2 separate regions of the Homo sapiens genome follow, and region 1 is linked to region 2. The links are contacts of gene promoters, found by promoter capture Hi-C in blood cells and fetal thymus (Javierre and others, 2016). All regions are on one chromosome and are shown on one strand. The core of a region is centred on a gene start or on the middle of the fragment in contact, and the rest is flanking DNA. Distances in the headings are between cores, read along the strand shown. Region 1 has its middle 59 kb from the start of PCGF5. Region 2 holds the start of GLUD1 (glutamate dehydrogenase 1).

Region 1 (5,011 bases), core at 2,287-4,786, 4.1 Mb before region 2:
GTGGCAGCGAAAAAATAGCACGTTTCGGCCGCTGCCCGAGTGTTGGCGGGGAGGGGATGGGAGCAGCGGGCACGTCCGTCCGTGCCCCCCCACCCCACCACCCCGGCACGCGCGCGGGCAGCGCCCGCAGGGGGCGCGGAGGGCGTACAGGTGGGTCCCGCCGGGTCCTGCCTCCTGCCCCTCCCTGCCACTCGCGGAAGGCCACCGCGCCCTCCCCAACGCGCCTCTCGCTCGCCCCTTTCCTCTCCGTGACATCTTATATAATAACCTGAGCTAATCAAAACGGAAGCGACGCGCGCAGCCGGGAGCAGATGCTCGCGCCCCGAGCCAGCGGCCCCCAAACTAGGCGCCGGGGCGCGCGGCTGCCGGCGGGGGAAGGGCCCGAGCGCCGACTCAGGTCGTCCCTCCTCGGCGGAGGCGCCGCTGCTGCCGGTCCCCATCAGGAAGCCGCGAGCGTCACAAACTGCGTCAGCTTCTTCGAACACATTTCATGGTCTCCCTCCAGCCAGGGAGCCGCTGCTCCCGCGGCGGGGCCGCGGCCAGGACTGGAAGGCGCCCCTCTGGGGAAGAGAAAGTTCCTCGGGGCCCTCCCCTTGCCCGCCCGGCGCCCGGCCCCGCCGTGCCTCCAGCCCCTTTCCGCGCGCCGCCAGCCCGGCCGCGCCGCCCACCGGCCCGCACCGAGGTCAGGTTAGGCAACTTGTGACCCCGGGGCGCCAGGCGGCCCCCTCCCGCCCGCCGGGCTCGCCTGGCTCCCGGGGCCTCCCCCCCGGCCCCGCGGAAAACAGCCACGCCAGAAACTTCCCTGGGCCGCGTCGGGCGGGGAAGCCGCCTGGGTCCCCGCGCATCGCCCTTACCTTGCTCTCGAGAGGCCACGATCCGGGCGGGCCGCGCGGGGCGCGTGGTGCGCGAGCGCGCGCGCGTGGGGCGGTAGGTGAGGGAGCCCGCGCCGGCGGGGGCGGGGCGGGGCAGCGGGGGTGCGAGCGGCGCGGGGCGGGGGCTGGGCCGGCCCGGCGGGCGGGCGCGAGGAGAGCAGAGCCCGCGGCGGCGGCGGCGGCGCTGGCGGCGGCGGGCGCGGGGCGAGCGCGCCGAGGGGGCGGAGGAGTTACCGTGGGTTTGTTTACGCATTGCTGCCCGGCTCGGGGCACAGCCCGCACTCCCTGATTGGACACAAACTGGGGCACAGCCTCTCGCCGCCGCCCGCCAGGCCTCCTCGAGCCGCCGCCGCGCAGCTCCCGGAGCGTCCTGCCGGGCACGGCCCACGGCGGTGCCCAGGCCTGGAGGGGACGAGCCGCGGCGGCTGCCCCGGGCGGGCGTGAAGCCAAGCTTTCGCTCGGGGCTCGCAGTCTCCCACCTGTAGTGGCCCGACCTTGGCAAGGAGAAATTCGAAACTTCTCAGGCCGGAGACTTCGAATCGTACAGCCTCTGAGGGGGCACCTTCTCCCCCCACAGACGGAGGAAGCGTGCCCTTGAATAGATGGAAGGCAGCTCGAATGTCAGTATGCCTCCCTGGCGATGGTCAAGTCCAGGCTTCCCGTATAAGCTGCCCTCCACCCGAGAGCTCGCAGTTTCTTTTCCTGCCTCCAGCTTCTTTGCTTCTAATCGCAAAGTCCCCCCACCCCACCCCACCCCCGCCACCCCACCAGAAGTGACCTTGCCGCCCTGATGCTGAAGATCCTCCAGTGACTCACCATGGCCTCGAGCCTTAATGCCTCATTCTCAGAGTCCTCAATAGCTGGGCCTCCATTTTTCAGTCTCCCCTCCACTTCCCTACCCTCACCCCAAAGCCTCCGTTTACAGACAACACCTGAAATGTGTCTGTCCTTTGACACTTTATTTTGATCCTTCTCTGTTCTCTGCCAGAATACCCCTTAGCCGCCTCCACCTGTCAAACTTTGTTGGACTCAGCTCCTGTAGCCGTCTCCTACCATCTCTGTGCAGTCTTCCTGCTCCCCCAAGCAGAATCCCCCCTTGTGGCTGGCATCATTCTGACCTGGGGGTCAGTTGTGTGCATGTGCTGTACCCTCTCTGATCTGTGGATTCCTTAAAGAGGAGTCTGCTTTTAACAGAGCTCTGGTGATGGGAGAAATGAAAGCTGTAAGACTAATATTGCCTCCGAGTGTCTGCAGCTCTGGTGAGACTGGAAAAGTTCAGGAGTCTTTATCAAGAGGCTCTCCTGATAGGTCCGCAAACCTCATCTTGCAGGAAGCAAACACTTCCAAAAACTGAGCATGCCCTCCATTTTTCCTGCGTCTCTATATCTCCTCCCCACCACACCTAGCTATGTGCCCTCCATACTCATAATGGGCACTTAAGTAACCCTTGAGGAATAAAATTGAATTCTACAGAGATGTTCCTTAAGCCAAGGCTGGCGGTGATCAAAGAGAATAGAGTAAATCATGAAAAAGTAGACATGAACCCAGTCATTTTACAGCTAATTCCTAGGCTAAGAGCCTTCCGGCCCTGTTAGGTAGTGTGGGTTTGTCGCTGTCTGATCACACACTGAAGTAGACCCTGACCCTTCTTGACTCCTGGGACTGCTAGATTTTTTTCTCCGATGCGCTGCTTGCAGTCCCATTAGGAAAAGTGTCTTTGAACTCTGCAAGTGAATCCAGCGAAAGTATTCTTTCCCAAGCGAGTCAATAGCAATAATTTAATGCAGCAAATTAGTTACAAGTGTTGAAAGAACTGGACGTTCAACTAGGGTAAGGTGAGGCAATCCTGAGATTAGCAACTGCTGGACGTGCCTTCTCCCCTGAGGCTGGAGGGGCAAAGAGAGGAGACAGCCGGAACCCTGGAGGGCTTGTCCAATAGGAGTTGGAGCCACAAAGTTAGTGCAACTACTGCGGCAGACATCTTCCAAAGTAGGGGATGAGAGTCCCCCTGGCTTCTCCCTGCCTCCCACCCTCCAAGCCCACCCAGTGGTGGAAAGCAGGAGAAGCCAGTGGACAAGATGACAGAGGGCAGGGCTCAGAATCCCTACAGAATATGTGACAGCCGCAAAAGGAGAATGGGTCTGAGAGCCCAGCGGCAAATGACTGGCACCTGGGCTTGGGTGCTGCACCTGGTTGCCTCTTCCTTTAGGCCGGATTCCGCAGTGCAGCAGGAACTTTCTCTTCCCGAGGCCTAGAATTCTCTCCTTCTTACTTGTCCCTCTTTGCCCTTCTGCTTCCATTACCGTTCTATCCTCTTCTTCGCCGTCACTCCCTTACATTTCTTTTTTCTGTCTCGTCTTGTGTACTCTGGCTCTCGTTTTTTCTTTGTGTTCCCATATATCTCCGCCTGACTTCTTTTCCCCCCCAGAGTCTCTTCTCCCCTCTTCTTGTCCTACTCCTCCCTGGGCAGGATGGCAGCTTTCTTCAGCATGAAGGAGATGACCAGTTGCCTATGGAAGGAAGAGATTAGGAATTATCCTGTTGCTGCCCTTCCAGACAGTGTAGTAGATATTTTACAAACGTTCTCATTTAATCTTCATCTCACTCCTACTAGCTGGGCAACATTTAATATAATCTGGTGACTTTGCTATTGCCTGTCACAAGGAAGGCTTTGTGCCCGTCACCAACAACACTGCTGACGGTTCTCTTACCTTTCCTGTACGTGGTTCCCTGCAACCTTTCTTCTTATCCTACATCTTTTCCTTTCATTAGCACAGATACTTCGCCCAAATCCCAACGCCCAACAGTCTAATACATCCGCACTTTAAATCCCCAAAGACTGAGAATGGCTATTTAGAGGAGGTGCATTTCAGCTGGCACTTGAAGGATGGATAGATTTTCAACAGATGGAAATGGAGGAAGGGTATTCTTGGTGGAAGAGTAAATTATGTGGTTTACGTTGACTGAAACAAGGGATAACTAAGAAATGAAGCCATATTTCAGAAACTTGTCTTCAGCTCTCAGTTCTCTGAGACTATTCCGAAACACAGATTAACCATGAGCGTATTAAATATAGATATGATTTATATAATTAGAATCATAGTGTTTAAAGCCAGAAAGAATTTTCAACATTGTTTGGTGCAACGTGTCCAGTTTTAAGTGAGGGAACTGAAGCCCAAAAGACTTAATACCTGGGATATCATAATGATTAAACATGGGCATTAGAGTTTGACTACCTGTATTCAAATCCCTACTTTAACAAATTTTAGTTTATCTGACCTTGAATTATCTGTGGGTAAGTTTTCTTATCTATAAAATAGAGAAAAATGATAGAATCTACTTCAGTGGGTTGTCATGAGAATGAAATATCGTCATATGTAAAACACTCTTGCCCAGTTCAGACTGCCATAACAAACTACCATAAACTGGGTGGCTTAAACAACAAACATTCATTTCTCACAGTTCTGGAGGCTGGAAGTATGACATCAGAGTGCCAGCACAGTCAGGGGTTGGCTGAGGGCCTTTCTTCCTCCTCTGGAGTGCTGACTTCTCATGGTATCCTTACATAGTGAAAAGACACTGAGCCTCGGAGCTCTCTGGGGTTCCTTTTATGAGGGCAGTCATCCCATTAATGAGGACTCCACTCTCATGACTTAATTACTTCCCAAAGGCCCCACCTCCCAATACCATCACACTGGAGGGTAGGATTTCAACATATGAATTTGAGGGGAGCCATGAACATTCAGTCAATTATAGACATGTTATAGGTGCCTGGCATATAGACAGTACTCATTAAATATAGGCAAAAAAAAATTATGACTTCCTGTGGCTATCCAGCTAGTAAATACCAGAACTAGAACTGGTACCCCAAGTTTTTGTGGCCCTAATTGTATGTTCCCTGCATTATTTGAAGCTATGTCTTATGATGCTTGTTTAACACCATCTGTGAAGATATGGTGCTCCTCTAGTCTGCTGTTTAAAGAAGTGCTCAGTTATCTTTCTAGCTCCAATTTCTCTACATTTCCTGCTTCCTGCTTCCTGCTTCTGCTAGCCCTGGATCCCCCCACCAGTCCTCAGCAATCTTAGCATACTGTGAAGTTCCAGGGGAGAAAGGGAGCAGGAAAAATTATCAGCAAACC
Region 2 (5,218 bases), core at 1,758-4,257:
AGGCAGAGGCTGCAGTGAGCTGAGATTGCACCACTGCACTCCAGCATGGGCAACAGAGCAAGACTGTCTCAAAAAAACAAAACAAAACAAAACCATGATGATTTTAAAAATAAAAACATCTGTTTTATAGGGTACTCATGAAGCCAGTTTGTAAGGCACCTACACACAGGAGATTCTCAATTAAAAAAAAAATAGTAATTTCCACAGCTCTATTCCTCACCTCTTCCAAAGCTTCTTCAATTCTGCCTTTCCTTTTTTGAGATGAAGACTCGCTCTGTTGCCCAGGCTGGAGTGCAATGGCACGATCTCGGCTCACTGCAACCTCTCTCCCTGGTTCAAGTGGTTCTCCCAAGTAGCTGGAACTACAAGCACTGCCCAACCCCCTCCCCGCCACCACGCCTGGCTAATTTTTGTAGGCCCCCCACCACGCTTGGCTTATTTTTGTATTTTTAGTAGAGACAAGGTTTCACTGTGTTGCCCAGGCTGGTCTCGAACTCCTGACCTCAAGTGATCCGCCCACTTTAGCCTCCTAAAGTGCTGGGATTACAGGCGTGAGCCACCTCCTTAGGCCCAATTCCACCTTCTTGAATTCAGGTGAACAAGTCACAGAAGAAGCAAAGTTAAACATTTATTTTTCTGAAGGCTAAGGTTATAAAGAACAACAAAAACAATAAAACTAAGCTTTTAAAGATTTTTCCTCAGAACATAAACAAATAATTTAATCCAAAAAGAAAAATATTTCCATGTTTACTGATGCTAATCATTTTATTCTGAAACTCCGTGGGTTTTTTGCAGGAGTGGGGGATTGCAATGTAAGAGAGTAAAACGATAATACATCCAGAAAAAAGGAAATTTGATACCTTAATCTTTTGACCATCAAGGAAAATTCAGGATTCAGGTCAGAGTACATTTTTCACTGAAAAACACAGTGCAAATACAATTAATGACAATGACTTATTTAGCAAGTAAGGTAAAATATAAGTTCCACCTGTATGAAAAGATAATTTTGACTTTGAGAGTACACTTAGATGAATGTCATTTAACAGATCCAGGTTGTCACCTTATATTTTACACAATATTTCGAGAACTAAGAACTTTCTCTTCCATATTCTAAAAGATGAATAACATGAACATATCGGGAAGCACCATCGTTTTGCAGGTCCAATGGGTGTCATTTTAAAACCACCCAAGTACACTGAGACCGCTAACGCTAGTAATGTGGTGTTTGGCAGCTAGTTTTAATGACTGTCATTAGAGCTTTATTTTTTATTTTCTTTTTATAGAGACGAGCCCAGGCTGGTCTTGAACTCCTGGCCTCAAGCGATCAGCCTGCTTTGGCCCCCAAAGTGCTGGGATTACAGGCGTGAGCCACCGTGCCAGCCTCGTTAGTTTGAAAAGCACCAAAAGCTATCCATAGGAATGTGAACTTTAGCATTTCCTATCAAGTATGTATAAATACATAACTGAACCCTCATACAGCATAAAGCTTATAAATCATATACTGAGGCCAGGCGCGGTGGCTCACGTCTGTAATCCCAGCATTCTGGGAGGCCTAGGCGGGCGGATCACTTGAGGTCAGGCGTTGGAGACCAGCCTGGCCAGCACAGCGAAACCCCGTCTCTACTAAAAATGCAAAAATTAGCCGGGCGTGGTGGCGCGGGCCTGTAATCCCAGCTACCCCGAGGCTGAGGCAGGAGAATCGCTAGAACGAACCCAGGGAGGTGGAAGCTGCAGTGAGCCGAGATGGTGCCACTACACTCCCGCCTGGGCGACAGAGCAAGATTCCATCTCAAATAAATAAATAAAATAAAAAATAAATCATATACTGAACCATTTAACAAATACATATATTCCTGAGAAAGAATTTCCTGGGGGCATTATCGCATTTCTAGTTTCCTTATTTTAGACTATTTCAGAGGGAGATAGGGTCTCCCTCTGTTGCCCAGGCTGGGGTGCAGTGGAGCTATCGTAGCTCACTGCAGCCTCGAACTCCTGGGCTCAAGCCATCCTCCAGCCTCGACCTCCCAAAGTGCTAGGACTAAAGGCGTGAGCCACCGCGCCGGGCCGGAGCCTCTGTCTGCAAAGGTGAAGCAGTCAGTACTGTGGGGCGACACAACCACGACGTGCGTAACTATGCGATCTCCACACTGCGGAGCAGTTGAACGGGACAATAAAAGCTCGCGTGGTGAGAGCTTGTGGGCGAGTGACTCCCTTCCAGCTCACGCCAGCCACGCATAATCCAACTCCGGGTGCCACGCCGCTCTCTGCAGCCCTGGCTGGTGACGCCGAGCCCTCAGCCCGGCCTTACGCGGCGGCGGCTCTGCCTCGCTTTCCTGCCCACGTGTCAGCCCCTGCACGCCCGGCCCCGGCCTGAGGCCGCCAGAGGACAGGCCAGGGTGGGCCGCCCGTTCCGAGGGCGCGCGGGCGGAAAGGAGGGGCGCCCGTGACTCACATGACCCGGTCCCCGACCAGACCGCCAAGCCTCACCCACGCGGCGCTCGGGGGGACTCGGCCTCTGAGCGCCCTACAGAGGCCAGCCCCCGACCCCGACCTCCCTGGGCTACCCCCAACCCCCCTGAGGGACCCCCGCGGCGCACATACCTGAGAGCCCCGCCGGAGGCGGGTGCGGCCTCCGGGCAAATCCGGCCGCCCGTGGGCCCGCCCCGACCCGCCCCGACCCGCCCCGACCTTCCCCTCCCTGCCCCTCCCGTCCGTTCCCCTCCACTCTCCTCCCCGCCCTTCCTCTCCCCTCCCCTCCCTTCCCCACTGGCGCGCGAGCGTGCGCGCCGAGCCCGCCCGCGCCTGCGCGCCCCCGACGCCCCGCCGGCGCGCGCTGCCGCCAGCGAGGCCCGGGGAGGCCGCGGCGGAGGCGGAGGCCCGGCGCCCTGGGCGGCGCCCTGTCCCCGAAGTCCGTCCTCCCCGTTAGGTGGCGAGCGCCCGAGGGGAGGGGACAGCCGGGCAAGCAGGAAGCTGCGGCTTAAAAGGGCAACCCGCGCGGGACCCTTCCTCCCTAGTCGCGGGGAGTCTGAGAAAGCGCGCCTGTTTCGCGACCATCACGCACCTCCCCTCCGCTTGTGGCCATGTACCGCTACCTGGGCGAAGCGCTGTTGCTGTCCCGGGCCGGGCCCGCTGCCCTGGGCTCGGCGTCCGCCGACTCGGCCGCGTTGCTGGGCTGGGCCCGGGGACAGCCCGCCGCCGCCCCGCAGCCGGGGCTGGCATTGGCCGCCCGGCGCCACTACAGCGAGGCGGTGGCCGACCGCGAGGACGACCCCAACTTCTTCAAGATGGTGGAGGGCTTCTTCGATCGCGGCGCCAGCATCGTGGAGGACAAGCTGGTGGAGGACCTGAGGACCCGGGAGAGCGAGGAGCAGAAGCGGAACCGGGTGCGCGGCATCCTGCGGATCATCAAGCCCTGCAACCATGTGCTGAGTCTCTCCTTCCCCATCCGGCGCGACGACGGCTCCTGGGAGGTCATCGAAGGCTACCGGGCCCAGCACAGCCAGCACCGCACGCCCTGCAAGGGAGGTGAGCGTCGGCCGGGCCCCGTCCCGCCCTCCCTGCCTCCCCTGCGGCCCTCCCCTCCGGCCTCCTGCCGGTGCGGGGCCGCTGCTCAGCCCAGCCCAGCCCAGCTGGAGCGGGCCGGGTCCCCGCCCGGGTCACCCCGCCTCGGATGTGGCCGGCTCTGTGGATGGTGATTTTTCCGCCTTAAAATCATCATGCGATTGGCCTGCCCCCTCCCCCGCGCCGTCACCCCGGGCCTCTGTATATGCTGATCTTGCATGCAGAGTAGACGCTGCACCGGTCTCCTTTTGGTCCCGGTGTCTGTGTCACACACGGCGGGTCCTGCCGAAATGCACTTCTAGGAAAGGGAATGACCTGCCCGTGTGATAATGCCTCGTCAGTGTTCTTGGGCTTTTGTGAGTCTCCCCTAAATGCAAGCTGTCAAATTATTTTCTGGTATTTGTTCACTCCTGTTCCAATAGTGACAGATGATATCCGAACATAGAAAATGACTTGGCTTCTAAGTTTGAAATCTAGACAGTTTTATTAACCAAAGGAATTTACTAATCACGCGTTAATCGTTTCAATTAAGTAATTTTCCCATTCTGACAAGTTCTGTTTTATACCAAAAAAAAGGAAAAACACAAAAAAATCACAAGCAATGTAATATCTCTGACAAATAAACACCTGGCGTCCTGACAGTAAATTTACAGGTTGTAGGCTGCGGATGGCCAGCCAGCCAATGGAATGAAATAGCTCTGGGGGTGTGTACTGGTCCTGGCTAGCCCTGAATTTGAGCTTCAGGAAAAATATAGTACGTGAAGAAAGGGGTCAGATAATGTTTGGTAGTCACTGGGTTATCCTGTGGTTTAAATCATTTAATGTCTGTAGATTTGGCCTCTGTAGTCAGATTGCTTTCTTCGAGCAAATAAGAGCTTTTTTCCCCCCAATACATTGCATCATACCTCTTTAGTAACATAAAATGGAAAGGACAAACCACTTTTGTCTACTGTAAAAAAGAAAAATTATATGGAATAAAGAGCCCAGGGAGGCGAGGAGTCTTGTTGGAGGTGGATTGGCTGAGAAGCACAGAGGATGTTGGGCTAGACCCATGTCTCAGTAAACCTGGTTCTGTGGTCTTTCAGTTATGCCCGCTGACTTATGAGGATTTTTAGAAATCCTCTCTGTACCGGAAAAAACTTGAGCGGTGCTGGTGTTCCCAGCAGGGGGGACAAAGGTTGTTTTTAAAGATTTACTAAATTTGCATTGACCCCGCCCACTTCTAGGACTTAACTTTGGAGCTTAATTATCCCCTAGCTCTGGTTGCCTCAGCCAAAACCAATGTTTGAACCACTTTGACCTCTGATTTCCTTTCTAGCTTCAAAATTGTATAAAATGTACACACCGTCAGTCTCCTACATTTGCCTGCCTTCTTCCTACCACTCCCTTATTATCCAAACCAGGAAAACAAGTTCAGACTCCAAAGAAAGGCAAATAAGGATGTTGGAGGAAGTTCAGGCAATGTTTAGCAAATATTGAGTTGCATCGTTTTCTTAAAACGGACATCAAGTTTATTTTTTACTATCTTGCTGGCAGCATTTGCCAGTCCTTTAAAAGGTGTACAGATAAATCAGTGTATGTGGTTTTCTGCAGGATGATTTGGTCTCTGAAATCCTTTTTCTTCGATTCTTCAGATGCCCAGCTCTCTCCTGTTTTT

What was found. The method cuts DNA at HindIII sites, captures the fragments that hold promoters and counts their contacts. A CHiCAGO score of 5 or more calls a contact.
Region 1: a fragment that was not itself captured here is called in contact with the fragment with the promoter of GLUD1 in region 2 in 2 of 17 cell types (non-activated CD4 T cells and naive CD8 T cells); the score reaches 9.1 in non-activated CD4 T cells.

What each region holds. Positions count from the first base shown.
Region 1 is chr10:91,158,925-91,163,935 of GRCh38, reverse strand. It overlaps a transcript of PCGF5 not described here. Among named protein-coding and RNA genes, the nearest start is that of PCGF5, 59 kb to the left of the region's middle. RefSeq lists silencers at 59-398, 599-1,268, 1,369-1,458. The HindIII fragment of the contact is 4,422 bases long and covers 1,326-5,011 here.
Region 2 is chr10:87,092,632-87,097,849 of GRCh38, reverse strand. It overlaps GLUD1 (glutamate dehydrogenase 1), which reads left to right and starts at 3,007. Exons shown (of 13, transcript NM_005271.5): 1 at 3,007-3,525. The coding sequence starts at 3,081. SHLD2 (shieldin complex subunit 2) reads right to left here and starts at 2,644. Exons shown (of 10, transcript NM_001330112.2): 1 at 2,602-2,644; 2 at 861-916. RefSeq lists enhancers at 1,994-2,053, 4,458-4,995 and silencers at 2,096-2,353, 2,274-2,973, 3,094-3,233, 3,434-3,773. The HindIII fragment of the contact is 4,292 bases long and covers 1,489-5,218 here.